2 separate regions of the Homo sapiens genome follow, and region 1 is linked to region 2. The links are contacts of gene promoters, found by promoter capture Hi-C in human tissues and cell types (Jung and others, 2019). All regions are on one chromosome and are shown on one strand. The core of a region is centred on a gene start or on the middle of the fragment in contact, and the rest is flanking DNA. Distances in the headings are between cores, read along the strand shown.

Region 1 (3,868 bases), core at 185-2,684, 57 kb before region 2:
AAAATGGCTCGGGCTGGACTCCCGCAGGCCGATGCAGGCTCAGATATGCTGCCTGCGGGATGTCGTGCTTTCCAGGCGCGGGAGGCGTGGCAGGGGCCGGGGCGCCTGTCGGGCGAGGCAGCATCTCCTGGGGCAGTCCCTGAGCTCCTCGGTCGCGGGCAGGTAGATCCGACACAGCTGGGCGCAGGCGGCGGGGTCGGCCTGGGAGTCGGCTTGGGTCTCAGGGAGAGCGCGGGGAGGCCAGCATGGCAGGGCGCTGCGGCCTCGGAAGGGGAGCCAGGCAGGCGCCGAGAGGACACGAACTCGAGGCCTCCAGCGGCGCAGAGGAGAGGGAGTAGGCGCCGGGCTGGGCACGCCAAGGTGCTCTAAGTTCCCGCCTGCCCCTTCCTCCTCCTGTGGCTTCTTGTGTCTTGCATGGGCGGATCTGGAGTGGGTTCGACTTCTCGCGCCGTTATTTCATCCTCTTATCACCTTAGGCAACCTACTCTGCCTCTCATCTTCCATTTCCTCATCTGTAAAATAGAGCGGGAAGTATTTCTTACTTCATAGTGGTATTGTCAGAAGCGTTTGAACCAGAGCAACTCCATCTTGAATAGAGGAGGCTGGGCGAAATAAGGCTGAGACCTACCAGGCTGCATTCCCGGGAGGTTAGCCATTCTAAGTCACAGGATGAGACAGGAGGTCGGCACAGGATACAGGTCATAAAGAATTTGCTGATAAAACGGGTTGTAGTAAACAAGCCAGCTAAAACCCACCAAAACCAAGGTGGCAAAGGGAGTGACCTCTGGTCGTCCTCACTGCTACACTTCCACCAGTGCCATGACAGTTTACAAATGCCATGGCAACGTCAGGAAGTTACCCTATGTGGTCTAAAAAAGGGAGGCATGAATAACGCCCCCCCCCCCACGTTTAGCATACAATCAATAAATAACCATAAAAATGGGCAACCAGCAGCCCTTAGGGCTGCTCTGCCTATGGAGTAGCCATTCTTTTATTCTTCTACTTTCTTAATAAACTTGCTTTCACTTTACTGTATGGACTTGCCCTGAATTCTTTCTTGTATGAGATTCAAGAACCCTCTCTTGGGGTCTGGATCTGGACCCCTTTCCATTCACAGCATGAGGATACAATGAATGGATGTAAAGCAATTTTGCCCCGCACCTGGCGCACCATAACTGTTCAGTACATTGTAGCTAGTGTTTTTATTAGCTCAAACTCTTTAATTTTTGTAGAAACGGGGATCTCACTTTGTTACCCAGGCTGGTCTCGAACTCCTGGTCTCAGAGAATTCTCCCACCTCAGCCTCCCAAAGTGCTGGGATTACAGACAAGAACCACTGTGCCTGGCCTAGGTCAAACTCATAACACACCCAATCCATGAGGATCCAAGGGACCTGTGTGCAAGAACTGGATTAAGATTTTCTCTTTAGACCAGTGATGTCCAACAGAAATATAATGTAAACCATGTATGTATTTCTTTAATTTTCTAAAGCCACAAAAAAGTGTAAAACTGTACAAACAATTGGATGAATTGAATTAGTGGAATTATAGGTGTTAACCATGTTAATTTGTTTCAAGCATGAGATAGTGACAGGGTTGTAGTGCTTATACTTAGATTGAGTGCTAGAAATGTTGGTAATGAGGAATCCAGCAAAGATACTGCCAATTGTTAGGTGTTTAATTGATTTTAGTAATGTTTTCTTTAAGCAACTATATCCAAAATATCACTTCAACATGTGACATTAGCCACATTTCAAGAGCTTCAGTCTCCCCTGTGCTAGACAGCACAGCTCTAGATATCTCTTCCCTAAGATCTCTGTGATACGGACAAGAGACAGGGAAATACGGGGTAGAAGAGAATGGTTCCCCAGCAAAGGCCCTACCCTTAAGCCTGGAGACTCTCAGCCCTAAGTAGGAACAGGCATTTCTGTTACCTTTTGGCCCACGATGCTCCCCAGTCCTGTACCCATAGAAACCCCAAACCCCGGGCTCCAGAAGCAGATGAGCCAACAAGGAGACGGGGAGACAAGCAGACAAATGGCATAGCAGAGAAAAAGAAGAGGAGGAACATCTGAATGCCAAGAGTTCAGCTGGGAGTGGTCAGAGAGGAGTTCCACTGCTGAATGGCCAAACTCCAGGGGACGATCATCTTCCCACTCCATCCCCCTTCCACCTCCCCATCCATCCTACTGAGAGCCACCTCCACTACTCAATAAAACCCTACATTCATCCTTCAAGCCTGTGTGTGACCAGATTCTTCTGGGATGCTAGGCAAGCGCTCAGGATATAGAAAGCTGTCACCCTGGCCCTTTGCCCTTGCAAAAAAGTAGAGCATCCATTGAGCTGGTTAACACTTAAGCTGTCCATGGACAGCAAGGCTGAAAGAGCATTGTAACACCGGGAGCACAGGCACCCACCCCTAGACACTACCACAGGGCCAGAGCCCAAAGCACTTGCCCTGGCTCCTGCACCTGCCCGTCTGCATGCTGCCATTCCTGTCAGGGGTTTGAGCAGTGACAGTAACCAAACAGGCGAGCCACAACCCTGCTGCACATCCTGCAGGTGGATCAGAGAACTCTCCCATTTCATATGAATGCCCAGCTCCTTTCCACCGTTTGGATCTCAACTCAAATGTCACCACCACCTTTGACCACTTATCTAAAGTAGGTTCCCCTTCCCCTTCTCCAGGAGCTGTGGCTCCTTCCTGTAGTCCCAGCTACTAGAGGCCTTGAGCCCAAGAATTTGAACCAGGCTGGGGATATAGTGAGACCCCTATCTCTAAAACAGAAAGAAGAAAAAAACAGCTGCAGTTGCCTCTGTCCCCTTCATGCCCACATACATGTACATTCACCTGGCTTCACCCTGTTTTACTTTCTACACACCATATATCACCACGTGAAATTCCGTTGCTTATTGTTTCCCTTTCCTTGTTAGAACCTAAGTTCTCAGGCTGCAGAGTGAGATCCTCAGCACCCAGCACAGTATGTGGCACATTATAGGCACTTATTTAATATTTGCATGAATTAATGAATGAACAAACGAATACATTACTAGACGTGGGAGTCCTTGTTGGAGGAAACAAGTTTGATATAATATTGCCCTAGTTTCTAAAAACGAAACCTCCAAACAATGAAAAAAGCAGCTTCATTTTCTATTTATGTCAATACTGCCCCAGTAACAGTTAAAATCAATGTATCAGGAAGTATTCTTTACTTTCTGTTTGTGCTTCTGAGTCAGGAAAGTAAGTAGTTTTGCCTTCCGATAAGTGAACAAAATTAGAAGAATTGATATTTGCATGTTTTCTGGGATATGAAATTCTCAAGTCCTTATTAAAAAAGGTAATTTGAAAAAGTTGGGATAGGTTTTCCTCAACCCTTAAAATGAAACTTTTGGTTGACACTAGAGCTTTATTGCTGGCAATGACAAGGCATTTGTTTACTAAAAGTAACATTGTTTCACATTTATCTTGCCAAAAATAGATGCTACCTACTCTATAGACAGAACTACTCAATTTTGACCAAGAAGATATCTCAGCATTGTGGGAATAATATTAAATTTGAACAGTACAAAGGTTGCATAATAAGGGGATATGAAAAGAGTCTTCTATACATTTGATGATTAATCAGGCAATAACAAGTGACTCAACTGCTACCTTTATGTCTAGGTTTATAAACTTGACTCTCCCAACTGTGGTATCATGAGTGTCAGATGTTCTTCAACAGCCATTTATTTACTTTATAGATTGTCTGAATTGTATGCCAACTCAAAGATTTAAGATTTTTAAAAATTACCAATAGTTTTTAAAATAAAATTTAATACATAAAAATATTAAAATGAGCCCAAATGGTGAAGACCCAACTTATTATATA
Region 2 (3,912 bases), core at 532-3,031:
TATGACTTTCAAATAAACAATTATCTAAAAACACTTATGCTATTAGATAGCATATTCTTGAAATGCGTGCAAAATCAACAACCATTTATTCTCCTCTTCCCTGTTTTAAAGACATTTTTATTGGGTTGAGAGTGTTTCAGGATATAAAGCAGTTTGCCAAATTCTGTCACCCTTTTTTTTAATGTCATAAAGGGTGTGGTGCCTGTAGAGAAGTTTTGAAAGTTGTACTTTATGATGTTTTTGCCTTCACTTTTTAAAAAAATGGTAAGATAATCTAAGTCCTGTCCGTATATTCTGGTTCCTAGTATAGGCTTCAGGGTGCACTCACTATGAAAAGTCAGAATATTTCCTGTAGCCAGTTTTACTTACTTCCTTGCCAGGAGTGTTTAGGTTCTTTTTTTTTTTTTTTTCTTTTTTGAGATGGAGTCTCACTCTGTCGCCCGGGGCTGGAGTGCAATGGCGTGATCTCGGCTCACTGCAACCTCCGCCTCCCGGGTTCACGCGATACTTCTGCCTCAGCTTCCCGAGTACCCGGGATTACAGACGCACACCGCAACACCTGGCTAATTTTTTGTATTTTTAGTCGAGGCGGGGTTTCACCATCTTGGCCAGACTGGTTTCGAACTCCTGACCTCGTGATCCGCCCGCCTCGGCCTCCAAAAGTGCTGGGATTACAGGCGTGGGCCATCGCGCCCACCCGTGTTTAGATTCTTAACAGCTCATTATTAGAAATAAAGTCTCGATAAGAACTACTTTAATACTTAATTTTCTTGCTTAGAAAGGTGAAAACAATTTAGAAGGAACAACGTGAGGCATCAAAGTTAAGCTGTATCTCCCATAGCTGGTGATTATTAAAAATCTCTATGAATCTAGTCTGTTCCTGTCATTCTTTTATTAATCCCTGGTTATTGGGAAGCTCTTAACAAAATAAATGTTTAAAATTATATTTCTGTAATTAAGTAAAAGAGAGTATTGATTCCACAAGGCTAGAATTGTTCGTCTAAGAAAAACGAATTCTCCGTAAATTTTAACCCGTTAATACCACAGAAAGATGCTGTTGGAAAGGTCTAAGAACAGAGAGATGCAAGCAGAGAAACACCATTTTCAGAACATGACATGGGATGGTGAGATTTGCTGATTTGGTTCCGTCTTCATTATCTGACATTTAATGACAGTTCACACAGAAATCGCTCGCCTGAAAACCCGTGTTTAAATCCCGGCACAGAGACTGTCTTCCTTGTCATTGTCATACCAGTAAAAAAAAGAAAAGTATCTAGAGAGAGAGAGAGGAGAATAAGCACAGAAGTTAAAATACAATAAAATCCCTTTTCCCTTTCTTTCCTTGGATCTGGGTTTTGAAGGAGACAAAGAAGGACCCCCAGGCTTTCCAGCAGCCAGCAAGCGCTATTACTTTTTATTTAAAAGCAACTGGGAAAAACATTCCCCAAAGCAAAACCAGAAGCCCTCCCTGAGAATCGTCTCTGGGCGTCGGGGCCCGGGCCGCTGGGGTGCCACTCCGCAAGGGGTTCCTCTTCTCCCCGGGGTCCCTGAGGGCTGGACGAGAGAGGACCCGTCGGTCCCGGGGTGCCGGGAGGAGACGTTCGCCCGCCCCACGAGAGGGGGCGGCTCTGGCCTCGGAGCCGCCCCTCCTGCCGCCGGAGAACAAACGGGATATTCAGCAGTGGCCTGTGGCTGCCAGAGCAGCTCCTCAGGGGAAACTAAGCGTCGAGTCAGACGGCACCATAATCGCCTTTAAAAGTGCCTCCGCCCTGCCGGCCGCGTATCCCCCGGCTACCTGGGCCGCCCCGCGGCGGTGCGCGCGTGAGAGGGAGCGCGCGGGCAGCCGAGCGCCGGTGTGAGCCAGCGCTGCTGCCAGTGTGAGCGGCGGTGTGAGCGCGGTGGGTGCGGAGGGGCGTGTGTGCCGGCGCGCGCGCCGTGGGGTGCAAACCCCGAGCGTCTACGCTGCCATGAGGGGCGCGAACGCCTGGGCGCCACTCTGCCTGCTGCTGGCTGCCGCCACCCAGCTCTCGCGGCAGCAGTCCCCAGAGAGGTAACGCGACCCCTGCCCGGGCTCCCTTTCTCTCCTTTCCCTTCCTCCACCCCTGCAGCCTCGCCTGCTGCTTTACTCAACCCGCTTCGGCGCGCCTGGGTGACCCAGCGCTCGACCCTGCGCTCCCGCGCGGTGCAGGCGTCCGCCACCCTCGGGTAGGCTAAGCCCGGGACTTCGGGACCCATCCTTGCTCGCGGGGCTCCCTCCTGGGTCCCCAGCCCGGCCTGCCGGATGGCCCTGCAGCTGGCTTGGCCACCACGTGGCGGGGCTTAATCTGACTTGTGTCTCCCCTCTCCTCGTGTCTATGGGGCCAGAGGGAAGCACTGGGGCCCAAATATGTGGATTTTGGTTTACCGCTGTTTTTTTTCCTTCCCCGAGAGGCTTTGCCCAGAGACGTAAACTAGGGAACAACCCTAGCGGCGCGGCGCCTAGGGAGCCGCTCCGGAAAGTTAACTCTTCGCCAACCTCTGGAAGGCCCCAGGAGCTGGGCTGTGGGACCTGCCCGGTGGCCAACTTTGGCATCACCTCTTCAGCCTCCATCAACATCAGCCTCCCTTTCGATGGGAAGCTCTGCCAATGGCGAGTGATTTTCAGAAAGGGGGAGGAGAACTGGGCATCTCTCCAAATATGGGAACGACAAACTTTTTTTATATTAACCAATTGCTTGCCTGTCTTTCTTTAAAACCATGCTTCTCATTCAGCCTGGCTCTTACCTTCTCTCCCACTCCCCCAGTTAAATTGATGTATTTACCATTTTCCTACAAGACTTTGCCACAATGCCGAGGACTTGATTATACATATATATAATCTTGTGTTATTATGATGGAGACAGATGGCGCTGGACTGAATGCTTTGTCAGGCTATAATTTAAATATTCTAGGAGCTAGCAAATTTTCAGATCCCTTATATGGTGCAAGCATTGATTAATCAACATTAACTTTTATTTATATTAATAGGCTACACCTTTCTGAAGGTAACATCAGATTGTTAGACCATGTTTCAAATTACATTATCTTTTCTTCTTTTATGTTCCCAGACCTGTTTTCACATGTGGTGGCATTCTTACTGGAGAGTCTGGATTTATTGGCAGTGAAGGTTTTCCTGGAGTGTACCCTCCAAATAGCAAATGTACTTGGAAAATCACAGTAAGCATTTTTTAAAAAGGTATTCTCCTGGAAGTGGGTGTTGGCAACAGTGTGAGGCTGCTGCCTTTTTCCTCTGGTGTTAGGATTTGAGTAAGAGGCAAATGCCTGAAATAGTGAAATGTTGGATTTACCCCAACTATTGGGAAGATTTTTATTAATATAATAGATCTAGTCGTGTCCTGCATTAGTGATTACAAAGGGCACAAGATAATGCTTGAAGGAATAAATTCTCAGAGCAGATGTGTTTCTGAAAGCCCAGTGTGACTCAGTTGAGTTTTATAGATTCATAATTAAAGCTGTTTTCAGTCAAAGGCCTGTTGTAATGACCTTCATAAGTTTTTTGTTGCTCGTGCCTTCATAAATTCCCAGTGGGAAATGGAAGATCAAAGATAGTGCTTTGACTACTCTATGCTCATTAGGAAAGGAAAAAGAAAAAAAATAAAAAAAGCCCACTTAATGTTCCTGGGTTGAAACCACCTCTAAAGGCAGTCTAAGAATAGAGAATGGGGGGGTGGGAATCTAAATAGCAGCCAAGGGCCAATAAAAAGTCCATGCTGATTAGTAATAACATAGATTATGCTGAGTCAAGATAAGCTGGATTTAGAGACAGCCATATATTTTTTAACTGATTTAGAGTCAACTAGAGTGAGTCATCTTTCCAGTCAGCATAGCATTGACTGTTACCTTCTTCACTTTTTCGTTGTTGGGAAGTTGTTT

What was found. The method cuts DNA at HindIII sites, captures the fragments that hold promoters and counts their contacts. A contact is called where the count stands out against the background at its distance.
Region 1: a fragment that was not itself captured here is called in contact with the fragment with the promoter of PCOLCE2 in region 2 in 1 of the 25 tissues and cell types used here (aorta).

Annotation. Positions count from the first base shown.
Region 1 is chr3:142,943,844-142,947,711 of GRCh38, reverse strand. No RefSeq gene overlaps it. Among named protein-coding and RNA genes, the nearest start is that of PAQR9, 18 kb to the left of the region's middle. The HindIII fragment of the contact is 4,592 bases long and covers 1-3,730 here.
Region 2 is chr3:142,886,952-142,890,863 of GRCh38, reverse strand. It overlaps PCOLCE2 (procollagen C-endopeptidase enhancer 2), which reads left to right and starts at 1,781. Exons shown (of 9, transcript NM_013363.4): 1 at 1,781-2,050; 2 at 3,087-3,195. The coding sequence starts at 1,968. It overlaps LOC124909443 (a long non-coding RNA gene), which reads right to left and starts at 2,600. Exons shown (of 2, transcript XR_007096122.1): 1 at 2,405-2,600; 2 at 97-1,273. RefSeq lists a silencer at 1,789-1,838. The HindIII fragment of the contact is 12,495 bases long and covers 1-3,912 here.